Linked DNA regions of Homo sapiens: regions 1 and 3 are each linked to region 2. Evidence: promoter capture Hi-C in human tissues and cell types (Jung and others, 2019). All regions are on one chromosome and are shown on one strand. Each heading gives the region's core, a stretch centred on a gene start or on the middle of the fragment in contact. The rest is flanking DNA. Distances are from core to core; before and after follow the strand shown. Region 1 holds the start of PLIN1 (perilipin 1). Region 2 holds the start of CIB1 (calcium and integrin binding 1). Region 3 has its middle 32 kb from the start of FURIN.

Region 1 (4,368 bases), core at 708-3,207, 550 kb before region 2:
CCATCCCCTGTCACAGATGAGCCCAAGTTACTTACAGGGAGGTCTCCATCCAGCAAGGTGAGGCCTTTGTTGACTGCCATCCTCGCTCCTCAAGCTGCAAAACAGAGTCCCAGGTCCCATCAGAAGCCCTCAGGCTTGAGCTCCACTGGGTCACTTCCCTACCTCTCATGGCCACCAACTAGGCCCAGGCTGCCTGGGGGCCCATTTGCCCTGAACAGAAGGCATTAGGTTGGAGGGTGAATATCACACACAATAGCCCCACTCCTTAGGGTCCCATAGCAATGAGTTGCTCCATAGCTTACTTGTCAAGACTGATGTTTCTTTCTTTTTCTTTTCTTTCTTTCTTTTTTTTTTTTTTTGAGATGGATTCTTGCTCTGTTGCCCAGGCTGGAGTGTAGTTGCACAATCTCGGCTCACTACAACCTCCGCCTCCCGGGTTCAAGGGATTCTCCTGCCTCAGCCTCCCAAGTAGCTGGGATTACAGGCGCCCACCACCACGCCCGGCTAGTTTTTTTTTTTTTTTCTGTTTAGTAGAGATGGGGTTTCACCATGTTGGCTAGGCTGGTGTCGAACTCCTGACCTCAAGTGATCCACCTGCCTAGACCTCCCAAAGTGCTGGGATTACAGGCATGAACCACCACACTGGCTAATTTTTGTATTTTTAGTAGAGATGGGGTTTCATCATGTTGGCCAGGCTGGTCTCGAACTCCTGGCCTCAAGTGATCTGCCCACCTTGGCCTCCCAAAGTGCTGTGATTACAGGCAAGAGCCACCATGCCCGGCCAAGAATAATGTTTCCTATAAGAGTTCAGGTTAAGAGGCCAGGCGCGGTGGCTCAGGCCTGTAATCCCGGCACTTTGGGAGTCCAAGGCAGGCAGATCACCTGAGTTCAGGAGTTCAAGACCAGCCTGGGCAACATGGTGAAACTCCGTCTCTGCTAAAAATACAAAAATTAGCCAGACGTGGTGGTGGGCAGCTGTAATCCCAGCTACTTGGGAGGCTGAGGCAGGAGGATCGCTTGAGCCTGAGAGGTGGAGGTTGCAGTGAGCTGAGATCCTGCCACTGCACTCCAGCCTGGGTGACAGAGGGAGACTCTGTCTCAAAAAAAAAAAGGAGTTCAGGTTAGGAAATAAAAAATGCAGGTAGCCATAAGAGATAAAAAGTTTTAGATAAAATCTTAAGGCTCTTAAATGAGGGTCCAAAAGAGACTAAAACAAGAAGTTTCAAGCTGGGTGCACTGGCAAGCACCTGTAATCCCAGCTACTGAGGCTGACATGGGAGAATTGCTTGAGCCCAGGAGTTTGAGATCAGCCTCGGCAATACAGTGAGATGCCCATCTCTAAAAAAATAAATAAACAAGTTAAAGGTTTCATCTTTGAAAAGGCTCTGGGTTAATTCCTCTATTTCTCTCTTTCTCTCTGTCTGTCCCTCTCCCCCTCTCCCTATCTGTTTTTTGAGACAGGGTCTCAATCTGTTGCCCAGGATGGAATGTGGTGGCACGATCATGGCTCAATGCAGCCTTGACCTCCTGGGATCAAGGTACCCTCCCACCTCAGCCTCTCATGTAGCTGGGACTACAGGCATGCACCACAATGCAGGGCTAATTTTTTCTCTTTTTTTATAGAGACAGGATCCCACTGTGTTGCCCAGGTTGTTCTTGAACTCCTGGGCTCAAGTGATCCACCTGCCTTGGCCACCTGCAGTGCTGGGATTAAAGGCATGATCCACTGTGCCTATCCAATTCCTCTATTTCTAGATTCTGGTATCTATACCAGAATCTCTCCCTCAGTAGTTTCCCTGCAGAGTTTTTCATCCCCAGCAAAATCCCCAAGAGGCCCTTACCTTCAACTTCTTCCCTTTAATGTTCATAAACAAGCCATGTAAGGCAGGTGCCCCAGGACCCCAACACTCACTCCGGCTGACCGCCACCTCAGTCTCACAGAGCCCAGGCTGCAGAGTGTCTCCTCAGGCAGAAACAATTCCTGTCACTCCTGGGAGGCTTGGGCAATGCTGCTTCCACCTCCCAGCTAGAGGAGGGCAGAGAGGGAGAGACAACAGGGTCAGCCAGTTGTCATGGTTATATGACCCAGGGTTCCCCAGGCATATCCTAACTTCTCTAAGGACATTTAGCAAACAAGGAGGTAGGTGGCAGAGCTGAAGGAGATCCAGGCTCAGAGGACTTAGTATTCCAGAGCCATGAAGCATCAGTTCTGTAATGTTCCTGCCCTCAATTCACAAAAATCTGCTTTCCAGAAAGAAGGTATAGGGATAGACATCATTAAACTCAAAAGCTCTAAAGTTCTATATACCTCTGCAATCTTTTGGCTCCTTTTCCATAGAGGGTCTTGTGGGAGTTTTCAATCCATTTCTCTCATCTTTTCTTATTTACTAGCAAGACTGAATGCTGAACAGTAAAATTTAAACCCACACAGAAGAGTTCATCTGAATGTATTCATCTTTGATTATGGAGATAAATTGCCCTCAGTGAAGAAGCGACAGAGCCGGGAGTTGAGTTTTTGACAATATAGCCTTTGAGTTGAGGGAGGAATTCCCACTTCTTAGAATTCAAAAAAATTTATTGAACTTTACCTGGCCTAAGATGCTACCAGAATGAAGAGTAGGAGAGCCAAGTAGATTTTTATTCTCCTGGGTCTGGATAAGCGACAGTGTTGACTAGGATTCTATCACTAATCAAGAGCACCCAGACAGCCAAGAATTAGCACCACTCAACCCTTCTTTACCCAGGACTCAAGCACAAGCCCAAGTTCTAGTTCCTGGCTTTAGATATGATGGAGGACTATGGTATAAGCCATAGCTTTCAGATTAACTAAGAAGGGCCTCTTCATGAAAACAGACAATAGGAAAACAAAACTTATTTTCTTTGTTGCTGGTGGAATTATATGTATTGTTGACTCTGTTAAGTCACACAGTGTGGGCAAGAGAAGAAAGAGGCAGGGGTGGGGAATTATGAAAGATCCTTGGTAATAAATTACGTATCTGTGATGCAATAAAGTAGGGAATGAGAAGGCAGGAAAGGGAGGAGTCAAGCAGGGAGGCTTCAAAGGAGTAATACGCTATACGTTTAATACTTATTGATCCAACCTGTGCTTTTCAAATGTAAGGCAGTAGAGAAGACAAAGTATTTAAAGAAGTGGCCTCTGCCCTCACCTCAAGGTTCAGCACAAATTATCTGTGAGGCTGTGACTGGACAGCAACCTGAGCCAAAGGGCAGTTTTCAGCCTTCAGAGTAGTGGCTTTGGGCCAGAGGGAACATAGGGCTTTGTGCCTGAAAGCTCTGCCAAATCAAATAGTCCTTTGGCTGCTTTAGCTGGGAGTGCAGAATGTGGGTGAGAGGTGAGAAGTGGTGAAAGGGCCTAGGAGAGTCCCGAGGGAAGACAGAAGTGTTAGTTTTCTAGCAGTAGCTTGCAGGGCATAGAGTTCTATCTTCTTTCCTTCTCCGTACCTACCTGCTTTCCCTACCCCTCCACCAAGTGAGAGCAGGGACCTAGGTCATCTTGCTCACAAGTGGATACCCAAAACCATGCATGGCACTCAAACATTCATTGTTGAATAAATGAATTGTCAGGCAACAATGCTCAGTTGTGAATGTGCTGGGCTGTACATCTACGAAGAACTTCTTCGATTTTTGGCATCCCTCATGAATGTGGAGGCTCTGGGGTGGAAAACATTAGTTACAAAGAAGGATTCACAGGGTGGTACCAGGACACCATTAAGGTTTACACAAACCTCTTAGAAGAGGTAGTATTTCCCAAACTCCCCACCACTCACCATTGCAGAGGACAAAAGTACCAAGATGGATACCACTGTAACATAACATACCACCATGAATTCAAGGCAGACTTACCTAGGCAGAAGCCAGCCAGCGATTGACAGGGCTACTGTAGAGCACCATCTCCATGGCAGCAGTCTAGATGAGTTCATTTCAGAGGTCCCTCTCAACCCAGAGGCTCTACATCTCAATCTTTCTCCATCCTCCTCCTCAGCCTGGATCTTCTAGCCCAGAGCTCGCTGTACCAACTGTGTAGGCTGATTGAGGATTATCTGATGGATTGCCTTATGTTTAACTCTTCTCTCTTCCCAGAACACACTCACAGACACAAGTCAATTTTGTCTAGAAATTTATTGAACATAGTTAATCTATTACAGTAGAGGATCTGGACAATAAAAATAGTTATTTAAGCTTTTTATTTTCCCTGACCTAGTAGCTTTCATGTCTCTTAAAATTCCCTAAATTTTATTTCTCAAATCCCATATCGTGATTGGTTAAACAGACAGCCAAGAATCTGAGTCTATTTTTTGAGAATCTCAATCACATTTCTGGGAAATGTGACTTATTGAGTACATATTT
Region 2 (3,945 bases), core at 216-2,715:
AAAGGACATGTCACAAGGCAGTACAGCCTAGGAGTCTATTCTTGCAATGAGTATTTACTGAGCATTTACTATGTGCTTGGCACTGATTCTAGAGATCCCCAAGGGATGAAGAAGTTGGGAAAGGAGCCAGAAGTTGGCCCTAAAGAATTGGCCAGGCACGGTGGCTCACACCTGTAATCCCAGCACTTTGGGAGGCCAAGGCGGGCGGAGCTTTGGAGGTCAGGCGTCTGAGACCAGTCTGAGCAACATGGTGAACCCCTTCTCTACTAAAAATACAAAAATTAGCCGGGCATGGTGGCGGGTGCCTATAATCCCAGCTACTCAGGAGGCTGAGGCAGGAGAATCACTTGAACCCGGAGGCAGGAGAATCACTTGAACCCGGAGGCAGAGCCTGCAGTGAGCCAAGATCGTGCCCCAGCACTCCAGCCTGGGCGACAGAGCGAGACGCTGTCTCAAAAAAAAAAAAACGGAGAAAAGAGCAAAACCAAAAATCTCATTCTCACCTTCACTCCAGGGATCTCTTACCCTCAAAGCCTCCTTTTTAGCAACCACACTGAACTGTCCTCCTCGGCCTCCACCTCCTTCCCATGAGCTTATCTTTGCCACAGGAACCTGGCCTGCATAAATCCGGCAAAAGGGCTTCCAGCCCAAGTTCAAATCTACTTACTCAGAGTGTTGTCTTAAGCAGTTACCAAACCTTTCTGAACCTGTTTCATTGTCCAGTACCTCTCTCCTAAAGATTAAATTAGGTAACGCAGGCAACCATTTAGCACAGTCCCTGGCACATGGTGAGTGCTCAGAAAGCGATAACGGTTACTGTATTATTCAGGTAAAGTTGGGAGAAGGAGCCGGGCTCCCCAAGGCTTCTGTGGTTTAGCCACTGGGCAAGGTCGGCCCCTGCCGGACTGGGGCAGGAAGTTCGGCAGTGCTGAAGCTAGTGGAGCCCAGGGTCAAAGAGCGCCTAACTTTTCCTGGAGGCTGTAAGGTGGCTCCGCGGTGCCACGCTGGGGCCTCAGGCGAGGGCGGGGAGGGCGTGCCGGGAGGAGGGCGCAGCCCGGGCTAGGTCTCCCGGCCTCCAGCTCCCGCTCCTCTGCAGACCTCAGGCCAGCCCCCGCCCCTCCCTCGGGACAGCGCCCCCGAAGCTGTCTCTAGAGGATCCCGGGGTCGGAGGCAGGGTTCAAGGCAGCACTTACAGGAGGATCTCCTGCTTCGTCAGGAACGTCAAGTCCTGGAAGGCAAAGCCAGAGCGGGGATTAGCGGACCGCTGGGAGGCCGCGGCCGCCCCGCAGCCAGCTCCCGGACCCTGCTCCCGAGAAGAGGCCCGCACGCGAGCTCCCCAGGGCCAGGCGTCCCGCGCACCTGGTACTCGGCCAGCAGCTCCTTGGACAGGCGACTGCCCGAGCCCCCCATCGCCCCGCCGCGCGCACAGCTCCGCCAACTCGCCTCGAGACGCAGACAACTTTCTCACTTCCGCCCTTGGGCCGCGTCACTGCCCGGTCCCCGCGGCAACCGCTCCTGGGGCCACCACCCCCGGGCCCGCCCCCTCCTAAAAGCTGCCAGGCGTTCCCAGCCGGGTTTGGCAGGCGAGCTGCCGGCTCCAAGCGGTCCTAGGCGAGCTGGAGGCGGGGCCCGGGGAGGGGCCCGACGCTCCGGGGCGGAGCCCGGGACTCACGGCCCCGCCTCCGGGGTGGGAGGGGGGGGCGGGCCACGCCGCGCGCGTGCGTGCTGGCTGCGTATGCGTCACGGGCGTCATGACCTCGCTGTGGCCCCGGCAGCGGCTGCGGGGAAAGTCGCGAGGTGCATCCGCTTCGGCTGCAGTAGGTGGTGGCGGCGGCAGCCCTGGGTGGGGTCCCATAGGGGCATCTGAGAAGTCACTGGAGCTAGCGTTTCCGGGAAACCTGGAGACTCGCTGAGTGGCGGGGGTCGTCGGCTGCCCCTCTGCCCAGCAAGGGCTTTTCTAGATGTTATCATCAGGCAATCGCTGCACCTGTCGCAGCCCCCAAGCCACCTCTTCCAGAAGTAACCATAACCTTGCTTCCTTCTTAGGCTATTTACTGAGGACCCACTGGATGTCAAGCATTGTGCATAGTTTTCTTCGATTGTTGCAACATCCCTTGCGAGGTAGGTTCCCATTTTACAAAGATGGAAATACGTAAGTCCAAAGGGTGTTAGTGATTTTTCCGGGCGCCGGCATTTAGAAGGTAATCGGTCCAGTCCAAGGCACTTTTAAAGGCTCTCCACTGCTGTTCTCATCATTCCAGCTGACCTGCCGTCCTTTTGACTCCATCTCACCCCTAGACTGCTGACCCTTTGCTCTTGTCCCCTCTTAACCTCTAGGATAATGTTTGGCACATAGTAGGCTCTCAGTAAATATTATCGAATGCATAATAAATGAATGAACGTATACTATTGCAAAAGGTAAGGATTCCAAACTGCTGGGAGGAGGAAGTGGAGGTTGTGTTGGTCAGGCTGGGATTAATTCTTGATCCTTCCAATCCATTATACTTGCTGATCTTTGTAAAGTCTAAATCTGAGTATGTTAGTCTCAGTTTATAACCATTAAATGGTTAAAAACCCAAATCCTGGCCCTCTGTAACTGGACTTCCTCCTATTGGCTCTCTGTCTTTCAGCCACTTTGGGCCCTCAGTCCCTCTTCCATCTCATCCTCAGGGAAGCCTTTCCTGACTCCCTAGACTGCCTAGGAATCTACTTTACACTGGAAGAATACCCAGTGCTCTCCTTGGCAGCATGTGTTTGATAAGACACACTGTATTAACAGGTACATTCCATCATTGTAGAAATATTCAAGGCCAGGCGCGGTGGCTCATGCCTGTAATCTCAGCACTTTGGGAGGCTGAAGCAGGCGGATCATTTGAGGCCAGGAGTTCAAGACCAGCATGGCCAACATGGCAAAACCCCATCTCTACTAAAAATACAAAAATTAGCCAGACATGGTTAAACCTGGGAGCTGGAGGTTGCAGTGAGCGGAGATTGTGCCACTGCAGTCCAGCCTGGGCAACAGAGTGAGACTCTGTCTCAAAAAATAAAAATAAAAAAAAATAACTAGGGTATAGGCCCATCCCAACCTGATCATTTTTCTCTTTTTTTTTGAGACAGAGTCTCGCTGTGTCGCCTAGGCTGGAGTGCAGTGGCATGATCTTGGCTCACTGCAAGCTCCGCCTCCTGGGTTCACGCCATTCTTCTACCTTAGCCTCCCCAGCAGCTGGGACTACAGGCACCCGCCACCACACCCGGCTAATTTTTTTGTATTTTTGGTAGAGACGGGGTTTCACCCTGTTAGCCAGGATGGTCTGGATCTCCTGACCTCGTGATTCGCCCACCTCGGCCTCTCAAAGTGCTGGGATTACAGGCGTGACCCACCGTGCCCGGCCGATCATTTTTCTCTTAATAGCAGGCTCTTTCTGTCCGAGAAAGAGTTAGTCTTCTGTTAGTAAAAGCTTAGGCAAAAAGCAAGAAGCTGTCATTATGTCTCCTGTACTAAATAGACCTTGTTTGCCTCTTACAAGCCAAGGCGAATACCTGGACTGCATGGTAATAAGTATCTGTCTTCTTTTTTTTTGAGACAGAGTTTCACTCCTGTTGCCCAGGCTGGAGTGCAATGGCATGATCTCAGCTCACCGCAACCTCCGCCTCCTGAGTTCAAGCAGTTCTCCTGCCTCAGCCTCCTGAATAGCTCGGATTACAGGCATGTGCCACCACACCCAGCTAGTTTTGTATTTTTAGTAGAGACGGGGTTTCTCCATGTTGGTCAGGCTTGTCTCGAACTCCCAACCTCAGGTGATCGCCTGTCTTGGCCTCCCAAAGTGCTAGGATTACAGGCGTGCGCCACTGCACCCAGCCATAAGTATCTCTTTATAGTGAAGACATGAGAGTCAGCTTTGTGCCTGGTGACCAGCTGTGATCTAGATCTCTCAGTCACTTCAC
Region 3 (4,380 bases), core at 789-3,288, 600 kb after region 2:
GCAATCTAATCTAAAATTGTTTGGACTTACCTTTCTCTGAACTGCAGGGGCAGAAGGAGGGTGATCCCTTTTCTCCCCATGTAAAGGGTCATGACCGGCACCTCTATTACAAAAATCAAGTTAACAAGAGAAAAAAGAACAGGCTTATTACATGCACATGAGACATGCAAAATATGAACTCAAAGAGGGGCCAGAAGGTTGAGGAGAGGAAAAATGGAGAAATGAATAGGCTCAGTGCTCAGACAGTGGTTAGCAAATGACTGGGAGCTGAGTGGGACAAGTTATGGGAAGGTGAGGGCGGAACTGCAAAGGAACAAAAGTTGGATTTGTTTGTTTGTTTGTTCGTTCTGAGACAGAGTTTCACTCTTGTTGCCCAGGCTGGAGTGCAATGGTGCGATCTCGGCTCACTGCAACCTCCGCCTCCCAGGTTCAAGCAATTCTCTTGCCTCAGCCTCCCGAGTAGCTGGAACTACAGGCACGTGCCACCATTCTCGGCTAATTTTTTGTATTTTCAGTAGAGATGGGGTTTCACCATGTTGGCCAGGCTTGTCTCAAACACTCTTTACCTCAGGTGATCCACTCGCCTCGGCCTCCCAAAGTGCTGGGATTACAGGCATGAGCCACTGCGCCCGGCCGAGACAACCACAATTCTTTTATTGTTGTTGTTTTTTGAGATCGGAGTCTCCCTATGTTGCCTGGTCTGGTCTCAAACTCCTGGGCTCAAGTGATCCTCCAGTCTCAACCTCCTAAATAGCTGGGATTATAGGTGCATGCTGCTGTACCTGGTTTTGCAATTCTTTTGGAAAGAAACTTTCTTAGTCAGATAAGGAATTCCAGGAAGAGTCCCTCCCTCCACTCGGGGGTAGGGAGGGTACAAGACAAGGTTAGGCAGCTTTGCAGTCCTCAGCATGTCAGAGCCCCAGTCTGGGGTATCACTTTCTGAGCCCCAACCTTCCTATCCCTCTTCATCTCTCCAAACTTCTCTGTGTAGGTGGCATTCCCCAAGGTTAACACGAATAACGGGCTATAGTAAGCATGTACTGAGCACCAGAAGTTTTAGGTGCAGCAGAGAACAGAGCCGATGAAACCCCTGCCTTCATGAAGATATCATTCTTTTTCTTTCTTTCTTTCTTTTTTTTTTTTTGAGACGGAGTCTCACTCTGTCGCCCAGGCTGGAGTGCAGTGGCACGATCTCGGCTCATTGCAACCTCCACCTCCTGGGTTCAAGCAATTCTCTGCCTCAGCCTCCCGAGTAGCTGGGATTACAGGCACCCGCCACCACGCCCAGCTAATTTTTGTATTTTTAGTAGAGACGGGGTTTCACCATCTTGGCCAGGCTGGGCTTGAACTCCTGACCTTATGATCCACCCTCCTCAGCCTCCCAAAGTGCTGGGATTACAGGTGCAAGCCAATGCACCCGGCCTGAAGATATCATTCTAATGGGAGGAGTTTGTTACTTCCTTCTTTGTACTTTTCTGAATTGCTTGTTTTGTTTGAGAGTTAGCATATATCTTTTTTTTTTTTTTTTTTTGAGACAGAGTCTCTCTCTGTCGCCCAGGCTGGAGTGTGGTGGCATGATCTCGGCTCACTGCAACCTCCACCTCCCAGGTTCAAGCAATTCTCCTGCCTCAGGTGCCTGAGTAGCTGGGATTACAGGTGCACGCCACCACGCCTAGACAATTTTTTTGTGTGTGTATTTTTAGTAGAGACAGGGTTTCATCATGTTGGCCAGGCTGGTTTCAAACTCCTGACCTCAAGTGATCCACCTGCCTCGGTCTCCCAAAGTGCTAGGATTACAGGCGTGAGCCACTGCACCCAGCCAGCATACATCTTTTTTTTTCTTTTCCTGAGATGGACTCTTACTCTGTCGCCCAGGCTGGAGTGCAGTGGTGTGATCTTGGCTCACTGTAACCTCCGCCTCCTGGGTTCAAGCAATTCTCCTGCCTCAGCCTCCCAAGTAGCTGAGATTATAGGCACGCGCCACCATGCCTGGCTGATTTTTGCATTTTTAGTAGAGACAGCATGCGCCACCGTGCCAGGCCATATATCATTTTTATAAAAACAAAGGCCGGGCGCGGTGGCTCCTGCCTGTAATCCCAGCACTTTGGGAGGCCTAGGCAGGTGGATCACCTGAAGTCAGGAGTTTGAGACCAGCCTGACCAACGTGAGGAAACCCTGTCTCTACTAAAAATACAAAAATTAACCAGGCGTGGTGGTGGGCGCCTGTAATCCCAACTACTTGGGAAGCTGAGGCAGGAGAATCACTTGAACCCAGGAGGTGTAGGAGGTTGCAGTGAGCCGACATCATGCCATGGCACTCCAGCCTGGGTGATGGAACAAGATTCCATCTCAAAAAAAAAAAAAAAAAAGAAAAAAGAAAACAATTTACCTTCACACACACATAAAACACATCCACGGAGGATGATTCTTCTGAACAGCTGGAGTTGGGAAGCACTACATTTGAAGCTGGATGAGTCATTGACACTCTTGTGTAAACAGGGTTTTCAGGAAGACAGCGTGGGGACCCAGAGTCTCTGGAGGTCCCAGCTAAAGATAAGATTCCCTGCGGAGCAGCTGACCCTGGGAAGAGCTGAAAAGGGAAGCTGGTTCCCCTGGGTTTTTAGGCTCTCTTGGAAGGAACAACCATCCAGGCTATCTCATGAGGCGCTCTTGCCAGAGATGCTTGTCCCAGTCCTGATCCTAAGCCCCTGCCTCGTTGGCATTGGTGAGCCCCGTAAGCCCCATCCACTTCCTCCCCCTCATCACCCACCTATCTCTTAAGCAGGGCCCTGACTCCTGCCCCGTCCACTGTGCCCTCACTCTGGCCACACAGGCCTGCCCACTGCCTATTTTTTTTTTTTTTTTGAGACAGAGTCTCACCCTGTCACCTAGGCTGGAGTGCAGTGGCACGATCTCTGCTCACTGCAACCTCTGCCTCCCAAGTTCAAGTGATTCTCCTGCCTCAGCCTTCCGAGTAACTGGGACTATAGGTGTGTGCCACCATGCCTGGCTAATTTTTGTATTTTAGTACAGACGGGGCTTCACCATGTTGGCCATGCTGGTCTCGAACTCCTGACCTCAAGTGATCTGCCGCCTCGGCCTCACAGAATGCTGAGTTACAGGCGTGAGCCACCACACCCAGCCGACCACTGCTTGGCTTTTGCAGGTGCTTTTACCTCCACCAGAATCTCCTCCTCGCCCCTAGGCTTCGAGGCCTCCTTTTCTGGAAGGCTTCCGTGACAGTCCAGACCACCTGGCTCTGCCTTGTTCCAGTGACTCAGAGGCTCAGAGCCGGCGAAGCCTTGGGGCCTTGCACCCGGGAGGCAGGAAGGCACACGGGCCCTGCCTACTGGGTGACCTTGGCCAAGTCCTTTGCCCTGGATGACTCTCTTTCCTCATCGGAAAGATAGGGGCATCATGAGCTGCTTGATAGGAATCAAGAAGATAACGTGTGAAATGTTAGCTATTTTTAGTTTCAGGTTTGTTGGAAAGAATGACAATGAGACGAGCTTACAGGAAGGGGGAATGAAAGGGGGAAATCAAGTCAGTAAGGGAAGAATGTGATAAAAAGCTTAAATGGAAATTTAAAAAACCTAACTTTTCTGGGAGGACGGAGGCTCCTTGTGGAGCCAGTTGAGGGTCTGTGGGGGTCATGGGGGCACCGTCAGACACTGTGGGAGATGCTGGACAGGGCTGGGTCCAGGCCTCCAGGCCCAGTGGGACCTCCCTTCTCAGCCCCCTTCTCTCTTTTTTTTTCCTTTGAGACGGAGTCTCACTCTGTCACCCAGGCTGGAGTGCAATGGCACAATCTCGGCTCACTACAACCTCCACCTCCCAGGTTCAAGCGCTTCTCCTGCCTCAGCCTCCCAAATAGCCAGGACTACAGGCATGTGCCACCACGCCCGGCTAATTTTTGTATTTTTAGTAGAGATGGGGTTTCACCATGTTGGTCAGGCTGGTCTTGAACTCCTGACCTCAGGTGATCTGCCCGCCTCGGCCTCCCAAAGTGCTGGGATTGCAGGCATGAGCCACCGCGCCCGGTTCAGCCCCCTTCTCTTTCAGCTCAGGCCCCCCTGCCCCTGCAGAGCCTTGGGAAGTGTCACCCCACACCAACTCCACCAGCTCCTACGAAAGCACCCCCAAATCATACCCTCTAGGCACCGCAGCAAAAGCAGCTTCAGGGCAATCCCCCAGCACAACCTCACCCCTTCCTGAGACTGGTGGGTGAGCTGAGGTCACCCGCCGCTGCCAGCAGGGCTGGGTAAATCTCGGAGCAGGCGGGGGCGAGGGCGGGGGCTGTCACCGCGGTGTTGCCTGACGCACCCTCCTCCCCAGCTCAGGAAATTGTGAGGTGAACTCTTCCCCTCCAGAGCGCTGTCT

What was found. The method cuts DNA at HindIII sites, captures the fragments that hold promoters and counts their contacts. A contact is called where the count stands out against the background at its distance.
Region 1: the fragment with the promoter of PLIN1 here is called in contact with the fragment with the promoter of CIB1 in region 2 in 2 of the 25 tissues and cell types used here (heart left ventricle and mesenchymal stem cells).
Region 3: a fragment that was not itself captured here is called in contact with the fragment with the promoter of CIB1 in region 2 in 1 of the 25 tissues and cell types used here (lymphoblastoid cells).

The regions. Positions count from the first base shown.
Region 1 is chr15:89,677,410-89,681,777 of GRCh38, forward strand. PLIN1 (perilipin 1) reads right to left here and starts at 1,958. Exons shown (of 9, transcript NM_002666.5): 1 at 1,842-1,958; 2 at 36-94. The coding sequence starts at 80. PEX11A (peroxisomal biogenesis factor 11 alpha) reads right to left here. Exons shown (of 3, transcript NM_003847.3): 3 at 4,126-4,368. The HindIII fragment of the contact is 12,360 bases long and covers 1-4,368 here.
Region 2 is chr15:90,232,476-90,236,420 of GRCh38, forward strand. CIB1 (calcium and integrin binding 1) reads right to left here and starts at 1,466. Exons shown (of 7, transcript NM_006384.4): 1 at 1,360-1,466; 2 at 1,194-1,228. The coding sequence starts at 1,410. GDPGP1 (GDP-D-glucose phosphorylase 1) reads left to right here and starts at 1,734. Exons shown (of 4, transcript NM_001013657.3): 1 at 1,734-1,817; 2 at 2,047-2,121. RefSeq lists silencers at 959-1,408, 1,429-1,868. The HindIII fragment of the contact is 18,702 bases long and covers 1-3,945 here.
Region 3 is chr15:90,833,995-90,838,374 of GRCh38, forward strand. No RefSeq gene overlaps it. Among named protein-coding and RNA genes, the nearest start is that of FURIN, 32 kb to the right of the region's middle. The HindIII fragment of the contact is 6,342 bases long and covers 1-4,380 here.